5 separate regions of the Homo sapiens genome follow, and all the other regions are linked to region 1. The links are contacts of gene promoters, found by promoter capture Hi-C in blood cells and fetal thymus (Javierre and others, 2016). All regions are on one chromosome and are shown on one strand. The core of a region is centred on a gene start or on the middle of the fragment in contact, and the rest is flanking DNA. Distances in the headings are between cores, read along the strand shown. Region 1 holds the start of RPL7 (ribosomal protein L7). Region 2 overlaps JPH1 (junctophilin 1). Region 3 overlaps JPH1 (junctophilin 1). Region 4 has its middle 20 kb from the start of GDAP1. Region 5 holds the start of GDAP1 (ganglioside induced differentiation associated protein 1).

Region 1 (2,700 bases), core at 139-2,638:
CCCGCCCGTCCCGCAGCGCCCGGCCGGCCGGCTCCGCTGCAGTGGCGGTGACAGCCGCGAGTTAGACTACTCGAACTGCCCTCATGGCCAAGCTGCTGCCGCCCGAGCGTCCCCGGAACCGGCGCGCCGGCTCCCTCTCACCCCGGGGGAGGGGTGCGCAGCGGAGGCGGCACGGGCCAGCGGGCTGCCGCGGGAGTTGTCAACTCGACCCAAGTTGCGAGAGGGTGGGAGAGTGGGGTGCGGGGCGGCGGAGCGCCGGGAAGGGGAGACTCGCTCGGCGCAGGCAAGCGCTGCCCAACGCCTTGCAGCTGCCCCCGAGGGCTCGCGTTCCCCGGCCCTGCACTCTCCGCGGGTGTCACTCGGGCACTGGGCTCCGCAGCGCAGCCCGCTTGCAAGTCAGAGCGCTCCGGGCCGGCTCTGAGCGGGCTCCACGCTCCGCGCTATATAACCCCGCGACCGGGAAGAGCCCGCGCCAGCCTCGGCATCGGCCCTCCCTCCGCCCGGCCTCCCCGCCCCCGGGCGCACCCCGCCCCCGGCCCAGCCCCCAGCCCGCCAGCCGTCCGCGGAGCCGAGCCGGGTAGCCCCTCTCACACGGCCGTGGCCGCAACCTCAGCCCTCCTCGCACCTCCCTTCGCAGCTCACGCCCCCTCCCGTGGGGTGTCCTGGCCTCCGCCTGCCGAGCTCGGCAGTCAGCAGAGCCCCGGCCATCCTCCTCCGGCCGTCCGGTCCCCACTGGTCCCTGGCTAGCCACTTTTCGTAAGCTAGAGCACTCCAGACCGCCCCGCCTGCGATCAGGCGCTGCGGAAGACAGCCCTGTGGGCTGGAGCGACGACAAGGACCTCGCGGAGCGGCGAAAGGGGTGTAGTCTGCGACTACCGCGGCAGGGAGCCGGGAGGGCGGCCAAAAGTGACTTCGAATTGCAGCTAGCCGTTTGGAACGTGGCCCAAGAGGCTCTCATTTTCCTGGCTGGAACCGTCGCCGCGGTGCTTGCCTGCGGTCCTGGTCAGCCGTTGCCCTCCCGCCGGGCGGGCGAAGACTGGTGCATGCTGGGATTTGTAGTTCGTCCCCATGAGGCTCGTCCTGGGAACATTATGGGGAGGAACGGAGCCTAATCCTGTCAGCGCAGCCTGGGGATTAGGACCCGGAGTTGCCAAGGTGTCAGCACTCTTTGCTCTTGAATTGATTAAAAAGTCTAATCAAATGCATATATTTTCTTCAAACAAGTTTTACCCGAAAGTTTGTTGAAAGAGGCTAAATCAGGGAGTTCTTTGCGTCTGCAAGGCGGCTTTTTAGTTCTGGATTCTTTTCCGGCTTATTCTAAGACACCTATGAGTCGTGGGGCTTCTCTCGCGAAGTCTTTAAGTGGACAGTACGCATGCGCCAACTTCCTCTTTTTCCGGCTGGAACCATGGAGGGTGTAGAGTGAGTTGCTTCTGGTCCTCTTGAGAATCCTTCTCCATCTCCAGAGCCAGATACTTTTTGTGTCACTTTTTCTCTCTCTGGCCGTAGCTTGCACCTTTGCCCACCTCCCTGCTTGATTGTGAACGCTGTGTGACACCAGTGGGGACCTGAGGCTAGGGTTGGGATGCGGGCGGTCTTAGGACGGAGGTTTTGGAGATCCCGGGAACGAGATGTCGGGTTGGAATGTGTGTGGAACCCGTCGGTTGGCTGACGGCCCAGTCCTCGGTAGAGGGTCTTTCGGGGGAGGCGCAGAACCTCTGAATTGTGTTCGTCCTTGGCTGGTGCTTGGTACAGGCCTCCCTGCCGCCAGGCCTTTGCTTTCAACATGTGGATCCTGATTGAACCAGAGTGGTGGTGGCTTGTTTTTTTTTTATTTTTATTTTTTAATTTTTGCGCTTAAAGTCTCGGGGTCAGTGCCTTGCAGTAGTCTTTCAGCTAGTACATTTTGTTATTCGGGTGTTGGTGTGTTTTTTTTGTTTTTTTTTTTAATTAGTCGTCGGAGGCCGGGCCTCTTGGTTGAAATAGGGAAAAACGTATTGCTATTGTCATATTTGTGATTGCGTTTTAGGCAACATGGTGTTAAAGGTTATTGACATGGAGCTAAAATATGCATCGTACACTGTAGCATGCCAGAGCAAGTAAAGTTACTAGTGACTAAAGTCAGTGACAGCATTTCTGGTAAACAACACTGCTCAGTACGGGAGTAATACAGCGCTGTGAGCTTTTTGAGCTATTGATAACATTTTTGTTTATTAACGTTAGAGAGAAGAAGAAGGAGGTTCCTGCTGTGCCAGAAACCCTTAAGAAAAAGCGAAGGAATTTCGCAGAGCTGAAGATCAAGCGCCTGAGAAAGAAGTTTGCCCAAAAGATGGTAAGTAAACTTTTTGAGGCACTAGCACATAAGGAGGCGCCTTATTGGGATTGAGGATGAGGTGAATGTTCTTGGCAAGATTTACTTCCTAACTGTACTGAGTAATTGCTTAGCTACCTAATGTTACAATCTGAAGGTAGTGGGGTTTTTTGGTGGGGGATGTAATTGCATACTGTGGCAAGAAAAGATTTAAAGGAAACATGTTGTAGTTTTCTTTTTAATGATTGGCATTGCTAATTGTGATTGAGCTAAAAATTATGAATAACTGATTATTGGTTTTCAGCTTCGAAAGGCAAGGAGGAAGCTTATCTATGAAAAAGCAAAGCACTATCACAAGGAATATAGGCAGATGTACAGAACTGAAATTC
Region 2 (2,700 bases), core at 68-2,567, 1.0 Mb before region 1:
ATCTACATTTTAGGAATCAAGAGGAACTAATTAGAACTTTATTTGAGCAGCAGGGAGAAGTTGGAACCCACCTGCTTCATAAAGAAATAGGCCCTTTCTTATTCTAGGTTCATTGACTAAACTAAACCTATTTTAAATTTCAGATGAACTGCTAACAGTTTGACTGCAAATTGGTTTCTAGCAATTCTGTGGAGGAATTCTTTCATATACTGTGATTTAACAAAATAGGAGAGGAATGTGGCCAATGCTCTTGTCCCCCCCTTCCCTATTTGACAGTTAAGCAGAGACTTAAACTTTCTAATTATTGCTGTTGCCTTAAACAGCTTGGATTTTCAAGCCATACTTTTTTGGAAATTCTAAATACTGTACTAGTCTTATTTTTGGAGATAACAGTTTAAAGAAACTAGCTGTTAATTTTCCATCAGTGTTAAACATTTACCAAGATGGTATGGCTGTGTTTTAAAAGTGCAGATACTTATTGATATCAAACAGCATCTCTGCAAATTGTTCTAGCAAAATTAACTTGTCACTATAGACAAAAGTTAGGAGGATGTGATTATAGCATTCTTTTAACCAACAAAATATTAAAAATAAGGTGGTTTATTTTAGTATCTTCAAGCCAGATTGTGAAACTTTCATCCTAGAATTTAAATTTTACCTGTATAGGCAAAGGAAAAGTCAAAGTCAAAATTTCCTAATAATTCCATTCCCATTCCTGTTAAGATGGCGGTATTTGGAGATGGCCAGTATTCAATAGGAAGCTTCTTAGCCTGAAATGTTTTACATGACTATCTTATCCTCTTGAGTTAATCTTTCAGAGAAAACTGTGGGCCACCCACCTCCTCAGAAGTTCATAGATGTCAAGTTAAGACTTCACATCTACCCAGAATATGACATTTACAGTACCAGACCCACTTAGTATTTCATTGTATATCTACTATTGCCTGTGTCACATATGCCAGAATGAACAAAAAGAGAAGGTAGTCTTGAAATTGGTCAAAACCGTTGACTTGGGAGTCATTATGGTTTTAACTTTTAAGTGCAATGAAATAACCAGCCATTGTTAACACAGTTATATAAAACCACTAGCATTTTTGCCCGGTGTTTTGAAAATGAATATGTGCCATGCAATGGAAATCTGTGCATGGAAATATAAAATGCAAAGTGACTGCAGGGTAGATCTATATAATCAGAAATGGAAAGAGGTCAAGACAGACTAATCATTATTTGTTTTCTATGACATTGTGAATTGTTATGAATAACACAGAAGTAATTACATTTTAAATTTTCCAGATAGCTTCTTTTGAGGGATACTGTAAATTAAAATTTACCCTTAATTAAAGGAAATTGATTTTGAAAAGAAACTTCTAAATTCCCTAATTTAACATTCATTTCCTCCTAAGATTATTTTAAAACCTGTACCAGGTTATTTTTTAATGTCTTTGCTTATTTATTTAGTAGCAAAAAATTCACTACAAATGCTCTAGATGACAGACTATCATGAAAAAGCATAATATTTGTTGACAGAGTCATCTGGTATCAACATTTTAATAGATAGTGTCAAATATACCTTTCCTCTGAGATGAAGTCCAAAATGGTAACAGTAGAAGATTTCATCTGGCCTTACATCAGTTTCTCCAAGAGTAAAGGGTATACTTTTTAGCCACCATAGCTTTTTACCGTCAACATAGTCATCAAACACCCTCCATCCACAAACACAGACCAGAGGACACATGAGAATTTTGTGTTCTCATACGAAGTAATTCCTGCCCTCAGGGTGCTTCTAGTCTGTGGTGTGATTCACAATGCAGTGGCAGCTAGGGAAATCCATAGAGGATGCAGAGATTTGGCAAATGATACGGCACAAAGCTTTGGCCTTTTCACTTAGAAGCACAAAAATGTTAAATTACTCATTTTTTTCATAATTCACTGTATTCATAATATATATTGTGGTTGTCGATTCTCTCTTAGCTCAAAAAGGTTCACCCAAATTCAAATGATAATCCTGAATATTCAACAGTTTTGTCTACACTAAAAAAAGAGATGCTGAATGTAGCAGAAAATTTAAGACGTTCATTTGATGACTGTGTCCCAAGTATTCCGATTTAAGCCTGTATACTTCTTGGAATGTTATACTGACATAGACCTAAAAGTCATTTTTTACAGTTTTCCAGCTAAATTAGTAATATTAGAATAAAATTTACACATAGAATTCATTTCATCTTCTACTGTTTCCTTGTCTTCTTCCCAAGAGGAATTTTTGATGCATTAATTTCAGAGGAGAATGTTGTTTCCCAGTGTTCACTTTTTGTATTAGAAAGTAGTGGTTTTCCTCTGAAATACTTGCATAAAATTTTAATGAAAAGCAAAAATTATCTGACTACTAGAAAATTCTGTGCAATGACATTAAAGCCTTACACCCAAAATTACAGGGCGGGGATTCACAAGTGGATGCAAAGTATCCCCCAGGGTTGACTTGGAAATGGGTCAGATTTGACCTTGGGCAGGCCTGCGCCAGTGTGCGCTGGATGGTGCAGGTGACGGTGCAGCTCTGCCCCCGACTCACGGTGCTTTCTTGCGGTCTCTCCAAGGTACCTACCAGGGCCAGTGGGCCGGAGGCATGCGGCATGGCTACGGCGTGCGCCAGAGCGTGCCCTACGGCATGGCCACGGTGATCCGCTCACCGCTGCGTACCTCGCT
Region 3 (2,700 bases), core at 166-2,665, 1.0 Mb before region 1:
TTATTCTTGTTTATATCAGAAGTATTATCAATACTTACACACTTAGTACTGTGCTAGATGTGAATGGAGGAAAAAGCGTGGGCCTGACCCCCTCCGCCCCCCACAACGCACACACAAGCTTAGAGTCAATTAGAGAAAATGCATGTACATGGGAGGTAGTTAAAAAAATAACACGAAGCAATTCAGTCAGTCCCGTATTTGTTTATTAGTGCTCTGCCACATTCCATGAAGGTTTCATAGTTTATATAAACGTCAAAATGGCTAGTCTTCTAGGAATTAACAAAGGAGTGGATTGACTTGTTTATAAAGCAGTTCCAAAGACTTTTACTTGGCCTATAGCCTAGTGATATTTTGTTTTTGTTGTTTTTCATGGTACTGTGTGAATTTGACAGTAAAAGCATTTTGAAAAATTATTCTAACTCTTCGCTAGATCAGAGTAACTTTCAGCCCATTGTTGGAACTATGAAAATGTGATTCTAGAGTAAGTAGTCACTACTGTTTAATTCCGTAAGTGAAAACGAGGGCGAGAAGAACATATTGAAGGTTTTCTTTTCTTTTTTTCTTTAAACTTTTTAGTAATGAATCACTTTTGTGGTGTTAAAAGTTCAGCTACAAAACTTTATTGTTTAAAAGTTTTCTTTAAATTACAGTTGCTATATTTGTAACAGTTAAAGATGTGCCACTGTATTCAGCACCCAATGACAACATGTTAAAGATACTTCAAGGGAAATAGAAGGCATACACCAACAAAGGGAAAAAACAAAACAAGCCTCAGACAGGCACCCCGCTCCCCATAAACAGTGTCTATGTAAATATGCATATGTGGCTGTGGTTAAAAGAAAAACTTTAGCCAAATTTAACAGAGTTTAATTGAGCAAAGAACAATTCGCACATCAGGCAGCCACCCGAGCCAGAGTGGGTACAGAGATTCCAGTGCAGCTGTGTAGTTGAAGAAGGGTTATAGACAGAAGAAGGAAAGTGAGGTACAGAAACAGCTGATTGGCTACAGCTCGTCATTTGCCTTATTTGAACACGGCTCGAATCGTTGACCCCCTTTGATTGGCCCAAAACTCAGTGATTGACACAAGAGTAAGCTACAATCTGTATACAACTCCATTTAGGTTATAGTTCGTGGTGTGCAGAGAAACCTTTAGGCTGAATGTAAAATATGTAAGGAGGCAGCTTTAGGCTACACTTAACACCCTAAAGAAATACTGAATAATGAGAAAAAGGGAGAAATATTAGAAAGACGAGGTGAATAAAGAAGGTCCCGGTATGATTAGTGTGTCTGGTGCCAGGAAGAGTTGCTCTGGAATGACTTCGTAAAGAAGTTGGTCCTTCGGCAACATTTTAAAGGGAAGCTAAGGGAAGATTTGTTCACAGTGGATCGAAATTTTACCAGGTGGGAGAAGACCCCATCTAATGATGTACAGCCCGAGGAGAAAAAAACCCCCTCAAAGGCAGTAAAGGTCACCAGTGTTCATTATTTGTGGGCAGTGTCGTCTTCGTGGCTTTTTGTAATAGGTCTTAATTTTAGCTTCATAGCCTGTTTAATCTTCTCCTGATATTCTGGGTTGATGTTTCGTAATGGCTCCCATTGCCAGTAGTAGAACCTGAAAACAAGGATCTTTCATATGCACACAGGTCTCTCGTGCCTTCATTCTACCACCAGGAAAAACATCCAGAAAGGTAATAAATTTGTGGAGAACAGCAGTGGTATGACTACTCATATTTCTGAAAATGAATGCTGTTGTAGGAAAGTTAGGAAAGTGGTGGAGATATTAGCTACAGCCCTACTGTCAGATTTGTACCCTGTAGCTTCATCCTCTTTTGAAAAGTCTTACAACAAACCCACCTGGATTTTGCGTTGCAGTGCCGTCGAGTACAGCTGAGTCATGGCAAGAGAAGAGGACAATTAGATAAGGGGTGCCTGACTATTAAAGGATCTGAAAAGCACTAACCAGGGTATTATGCAACACACAAGTGGAAACCGTTTCAGAGTGCCGAGGAAGTTATTAACAGGAGCAAAACAACATGTGAGGAGAGTGATTTTAGCTACAGTGCTCAAGGTAGATTGCAAGCAGCAGAAGTTGGGGATGAGATCATAAAGGACATGAATAAATGCATCTAGGCAATAAAGAACTGCACCCTTGAAATTTGTAAAGGAAAACCCATCTTGTATACAACAACCAGCTGTATACAAGGGAGTTAACGTTCTAAGGATGTGAGTACAATTAGCTAAGAGCATAAGTGGCACCATAAAGGCTGATGGAGACATTATGGGGAGAAAGATAGTGAATCTGATGTGTGGACATTCAAGGTGATAGATAAAAAGATAACATGAGTTTCAAGTAAGAACAGTACTTTGAAGCCTTGAGCACTTAGCAGCTTCCCGAGGATATGAATACATCAAAATTGGAGATTGGCACTGGCATTTATAACAGCAATTATTAGGAAAGTGAGTAGAGGGGGCTGGAATAGAGAAATCTCTAAAGAAGAGGCAGAGATGATGACCTGTGTGTGGAAAGAAGCAGAGAATTATTTTTGTGCTACTATTAAGACAAAATGCTAGACAAGGTTCAATTGTTGTTATAAATGTAATTTCTCTATATAATTTCATCATCTAAAATCAAATTAGCAAGTACTTTTTATTTAAGGGGTAATAAGAGTAGTCATCACACTATCTAGATAGCCACACAC
Region 4 (2,700 bases), core at 8-2,507, 1.1 Mb before region 1:
GAATTGAACAATAAGAACACTTGGACACAGGAAGGGGAACATCACACACAAGGGACTGTCATGGGGTGGGGGGGGAGGGGTAGCATTAGGAGATATACCTAATGTAAATGACGAGTTAATGGGTGCAGCACACCAACATGGCACATGTATACATATGTCACAAACCTGCACATTGTGCACATGTACCCTAGAACTTACAGTATAATAATAAAAAAAAATAAAAAATTTTTAACAAACTATAAATTTCCCTCTAAGCACTGCCTTTGCTGTATCTCACAAATTCTGAAGTGTATTTTTATTATTCAACTCAAAATATTTTCTTTTTTTTTTTTTGAGACGGAGTCTCGCTCTGTCGCCCAGGCTGGAGTGCAGTGGCGCGATCTCGGCTCACTGCAAGCTCCGCCTCCCGGGTTCACGCCATTCTCCTGCCTCAGCCTCCCAAGTAGCTGGGACTACAGGCGCCCGCTACCACGCCCGGCTAATTTTTTGTATTTTTAGTAGAGACGGGGTTTCACCGTGTTAGCCAGAATGGTCTCGATCTCCTGACCTCGTGATCCGCCCGCCTCGGCCTCCCAAAGTGCTGGGATTACAGGCGTGAGCCACCGCGCCCGGCCATATTTTCTTATTCCCTTATGATTTCTTCTTTCAGCCATGGGTTACAAATGTGCTATTTAATTTCCAAATATTTGAAAATGTTTAAAATATTTTAGTTGTTGATTTTTCACTTAATTCCACAATGGCCACAGAATATACTCTGCAACATAAAAATCTGAATATTTAGTGAGATTTGTTTTATGGCCTAGAATATGTCTACTTTGATGAGCATTCCATATGCACATGAAAAGAATGTTTATTCCACAGTTTTTGAGTATGTCTAGTAAATGTGAATGAGATCAAGTTGGCTGACAGTGTGCTCAGATCTTCTATATCCCAATTGAATTTCTGTCTATTTTATCTATTCATTACTGAGAGAATAGTGACAAAATCTCCAACTAACATTTTCCATTGGTTCTGTCAGATTTTGCCACATACATTTTGAAGCTCTTAGATGAATATGTATTTATGATTATGTCTTCCTAATAAATTCTTTTGTGATTCATAAATGTCCCTCTTTGTCTCTTGTAAAACTCTGTCTTAAACTCCACTTTTTCTGAAATTAATATGGCCATACCACCTTTCTTGATGTATACCTGGTATATCGCTTTCCATACTTTTATGTTCAGTTTATGCATGTTTAAAGTACATCTCATAAATAGCGCATACTTGTGTCTTGCATTCTTATCTGATCTCTGACCTTCAATTGGAACATTTTACATTCAATGCTATTTACATTTACATATCATGCAATTATTGCTTTGGTGTGTTTAAGTCTACCACCTTGCTATGTTTTCCATTTGTCCCTTCTGTTTATTTGTTTTGTTGCTTCTTTCATTGGTATTTTATTTCTATTTGTTTCTTAGGGATTTTTTAAATTTTAGTGTTCCTCCAGAGCTAACAACGTGTTCTTATCAGAGTTTATTTAGTGTCAAAATTGCACTACTTCACCCTTGACACTACTTCCTTCTTCACACTTCCCACTTGATACTTTTCATTTGGCACATCTGTCCTCACACTTCATTCTTTACATATCACTAACCTAATAGCTTTACAATAGTGTAATTCCATTCATCCACTTCCTCCAACCTTTGTGTTTTTCATATATTTACTTCCACATATATTATAGAGCCCAGAAATTTACATTTTACATAATAATGCTATTATTCTTGTTCTAAACAGTAACCTTTTAAGGAAATTATGAGGCAATGAAAGTCTTTATATGTACCCATTATTTGCCATTCCTGGCACTACTTTTCTTTCCCCTCTCTGTGGATTTGGTTTCCATTTTGTATCATTCTCCATCAGTCTGAAAATGGCCTTTAGCAGTTTTTGGTTTTGCAGGGGCCTGCTGGATCCAACTTCTCTTGGCTTCAATTTATATGAAATAAAGTGTCTTTAAAACCCAAGTTTTTAAGGGGTATTTTCTCTGGATATAAAATTTTGAATTGGCAGGATTCCCTCACCACCCCTTCCCACCCCATCAGCACTTTAAAGACATTTTCATTGTTGTCTGCATTCCACTATTTCTGGTAAGTCAGCACACATTCTTATCATCATTCTCTTGTGTATATCTTTTTTTTCCCCTTCTAACTGCTTTCAAGATTTTTTTGTTTTCAGCGGTCTGACAATGATATGCCTACGTGAGGCTTTCTTGGTATTTATCTTTCACTGAGTTCAGTGATTTTCTTGGACGAGTAAGTAAATGTTTTTTCATCAAATTTGGGAAAATATGGCATTATTTAAATATATATATATATATGCACACACACACACACACAATTTCCTGCCCCATTCTTTGTTCTCTTTTTAGAACTCCCGTAACACACATATTAGACCAGTTGATATTTTCCACATGTTCCTGAGGCTGTGTTTCTTTATCTTCCTTTTGCCATCTTCCATCTGCTGTGAAGCCCATCCAATGAATTTTTCACTTATGTAATTTTCTAAAATTTCCATTTGGTTTCTTTTAATGGTTTTAATTTCTCTCCCATGATTTTCTGTCAATTCAATCAGACATTTTCTTTTAATTCTATAAACATATATTGCCTGTTAGCTGCTTTAAAGTATTTGCTAAATCCAACATTTAGGTCATATCTATTTATT
Region 5 (2,700 bases), core at 67-2,566, 1.1 Mb before region 1:
ATTTTTTTAAGTTTCAACATTAACATTTGTATTTTGCATTAAATTATTTTAAATAGCATTACACTAGCCTATACAAAATTTGTTATTGACCTATTTGATATTTGTGTGCTTATGGAAATGGAAAAGGTTTTTAATCCCAAACCACCATCATGACACAAGAGAAAGAGAGAGAGGAGAGAGAGAAAAAGAGAAAGGGAACACATAGTTGTGTTGAAAGTAAATCCAAGAAATCGCAAGTAGCCTTAACATTACCATCCAGGAAAGTCTGTTCAAGATAATCAATGATCTGAGTGGCCTCACAAATTATGTTTTCCCCGTGGATAAGGACAGGCACTTCTCCAGTTGAGTTCAAACGCATAAACCAAGGCTCATTGTGCTCACTCAAGGGCAGACTTACATCATGTTCCTCGCACTTCAATGCCTTTTCAGCAATTACCAAGCGCACCTGGAAGAGTTCACACTGGTTACTACAACACATGTAAGCTTTCAATTAAATGACTTCCCTGGACACCGCTAAGCAGCCTTTCTGGGCTTCCCTGTGTTACCGACATTTTCAACAGTCGTTTTAACAATTCCTATTCCTGGAATTAACAAGTAAGGAAAGAACAATACTCAACAAATTAAGAGAAGAACACAAAATAAGTAATGAAATGATTCTGACTGTATTCATTAAACAGTCACCCTCCTCATCACTACCACTTTCTCGGTGTCCTAAACCTGATTATGGGTCCTCCCCAGACAAGAACCTGACATGTAGGTACATCAGCTCTTGCTGAAGACAGTGAATGCGAGAGAGCAAAAGAAGAGATCGCAGATTATGAGGGTCCACAAAGGCACCTCCCTCTGCCTCTCTCCGAAGACCAGCAGGCAAGGCCTCCAGACCAAATACTGAAAATGATGCTTTTTTGTCGCATTTCGCGAGAGGCGGAGCCTGGGCCATAGCCACATAGGATCATCTCCGATCGATTCTCCCCGCTCCCCACCCGGGCGCGTCCCCGCCTGGAGGGAGCGCCTGCCCGGGGTCAGGACACTGGAGGCGGATTTCTAGGTGGACCGGCTTCCCTGGGCGGGACTCAGAAGGAGCTGTCCCAGTGCTGAAGCCCGATCCGCGCCACCCTCCGCCGCCAAGGCCTGTTGTACCTTTTGAGAGCTGAAGGAATGCGTCCAATGGTACAGAATGAGCTTAACCTCCGCGTCGGCCTTGCCTTCCGCCCTCAAGGGCGGGCTCCCTCTCTGCTCTTCCTGCCTCTCAGCCATCTTGGGGTGCGCGAGCACGGGTGCGCCCAGCCTGTCCGCCCTGGACTTCTCCCTCCCACACTGCCCCGCAAGGCGTTTCCGGGTTTTGAGGGGTACCTGCCGGAAGGAGGGCGCGCGGCCCGCTGGGAAATGTAGTTTCGCCGGCGGCAGAGTCTGCGAACACGCGGGGTCTGCGACTGGAAAGCCCCTGGCAAGCCTGGGAGTGCACCTGGGAGGTGCAATTGAACGGTTGTTTTTTGGGTTTGTTTTTTTTTTTAGAAGAAAAAATAAAAAATATGAGACCCTGGTTATGAAGGGCAGTAAGGAAGAATGATGATAGCAAATTACTCTTCGGTTTGGAGGTTGCTCAGGTATAAAAGCAGCAATTTCCCAAGATACTGAGGGTTGCTCTTGGAGCCTGTTCCTTTGTTGGAAAGGAAGTTCCGGTCGACAAGCAAAGCAACAGGAAAAGGATCTATGAGCTTTCATTAGAAGATGCTACTATGACATTAGTGGACTAATTCCACAAATTTGACTAACTGCTGTAGATTAGAGAATAGTCTTGTATAAACAGTAAGTACTTGATTTTGATAATTAAACTGTGCTTTGTAAAAGAAAAAAAAATACCACTATGGAGTCATGCAAAAAAACTGTTTTTGTCATAAACAGCTAATAAACAATGGCGATATAAAATAGCCTAGTTGTTAAACACAAAAATTCTACAACAGTACTGCCTAAGTTCATATCCTGGTTTTTCCATTTTCTAAGTAAGAATAATAATTTTATTGTTTCCCTCATAAGATTTTTGTGAAAAATTAATAATAAAATGTTAAACACTCAGAACACCCTGTCACGTTGTAGGCACTCAGTCTTAGTCACAGGTTCAGTTGTCTTATAAACATTCTGTTATAACCATAGTCAGAATCATAATTTTATATTAGTCTAGTTATTATTGTATGTCTTTAAAAATTTGGCATCATATAGTAAGTTGATTTTAAAAATCTCTTTCAGTAATATGTATAAATATGACCATAGAATAAATGCCTGTATAATTTATCTGGCAAATATTTATTGAGCACCTACACTGTTCCAGACATTGTGCTGGCTCCTGGTAATATAAAGATGTGTGAAATCTAATATCTAACACTCAAGATATAATCTGGCAGTAGAGACGACCAAGGAAATAGACAATCACAATAAAGATGAGAACTGTCTTAGGGTGAACACAGAGTACTATGAGAAAGGAGGGGCAGGCAGCCAACCCAGGTCAGAGAAGGGCCCCTGGAAAAGACAAAATCTCATGAGGTTCTTCCTTGCCTTTACAGTACTTCATTTGTTACTCTCTGTAATTCTTTCATAATTTTTTAAGATTTCATAATGTCTTTTATATCCTTCAGTTAATTCAAGTGCTATAGAAAAGGTGAATTCCTTGCCAAAATTGTTTTTATCAGTTCACACTTAAGA

Evidence for each region. Contacts are between HindIII fragments. The CHiCAGO score rates a contact against its expected background, and 5 or more counts as called.
Region 2: a fragment that was not itself captured here is called in contact with the fragment with the promoter of RPL7 in region 1 in 1 of 17 cell types (fetal thymus); the score reaches 8.8 in fetal thymus.
Region 3: a fragment that was not itself captured here is called in contact with the fragment with the promoter of RPL7 in region 1 in 1 of 17 cell types (fetal thymus); the score reaches 9.3 in fetal thymus.
Region 4: a fragment that was not itself captured here is called in contact with the fragment with the promoter of RPL7 in region 1 in 1 of 17 cell types (naive CD8 T cells); the score reaches 7.0 in naive CD8 T cells.
Region 5: a contact is called between the fragment with the promoter of GDAP1 here and the fragment with the promoter of RPL7 in region 1, in 14 of 17 cell types (total B cells, naive CD4 T cells, naive CD8 T cells and 11 more). The highest score is 23.8, in total B cells.

What each region holds. Positions count from the first base shown.
Region 1 is chr8:73,292,321-73,295,020 of GRCh38, reverse strand. It overlaps RPL7 (ribosomal protein L7), which reads left to right and starts at 1,388. Exons shown (of 7, transcript NM_000971.4): 1 at 1,388-1,422; 2 at 2,224-2,332; 3 at 2,616-2,700. The coding sequence starts at 1,409. RDH10 (retinol dehydrogenase 10) reads right to left here and starts at 419. Exons shown (of 6, transcript NM_172037.5): 1 at 1-419. RefSeq lists a silencer at 1-686 and enhancers at 777-1,266, 720-1,427, 1,387-1,746, 1,757-1,806, 1,428-2,136. The HindIII fragment of the contact is 6,100 bases long and covers 1-2,638 here.
Region 2 is chr8:74,315,512-74,318,211 of GRCh38, reverse strand. JPH1 (junctophilin 1) reads left to right here. Exons shown (of 6, transcript NM_020647.4): 2 at 2,592-2,700. Among named protein-coding and RNA genes, the nearest start is that of JPH1, 4.7 kb to the left of the region's middle. The HindIII fragment of the contact is 1,108 bases long and covers 764-1,871 here.
Region 3 is chr8:74,297,811-74,300,510 of GRCh38, reverse strand. The region is part of intron 2 of JPH1 (junctophilin 1); the gene reads left to right. Among named protein-coding and RNA genes, the nearest start is that of JPH1, 22 kb to the left of the region's middle. The HindIII fragment of the contact is 2,590 bases long and covers 121-2,700 here.
Region 4 is chr8:74,369,293-74,371,992 of GRCh38, reverse strand. It overlaps a transcript of GDAP1 not described here. Among named protein-coding and RNA genes, the nearest start is that of GDAP1, 20 kb to the right of the region's middle. The HindIII fragment of the contact is 6,781 bases long and covers 1-2,700 here.
Region 5 is chr8:74,349,019-74,351,718 of GRCh38, reverse strand. GDAP1 (ganglioside induced differentiation associated protein 1) reads right to left here and starts at 1,316. Exons shown (of 6, transcript NM_018972.4): 1 at 1,141-1,316; 2 at 253-445. The coding sequence starts at 1,257. RefSeq lists an enhancer at 1,074-1,303. The HindIII fragment of the contact is 8,708 bases long and covers 486-2,700 here.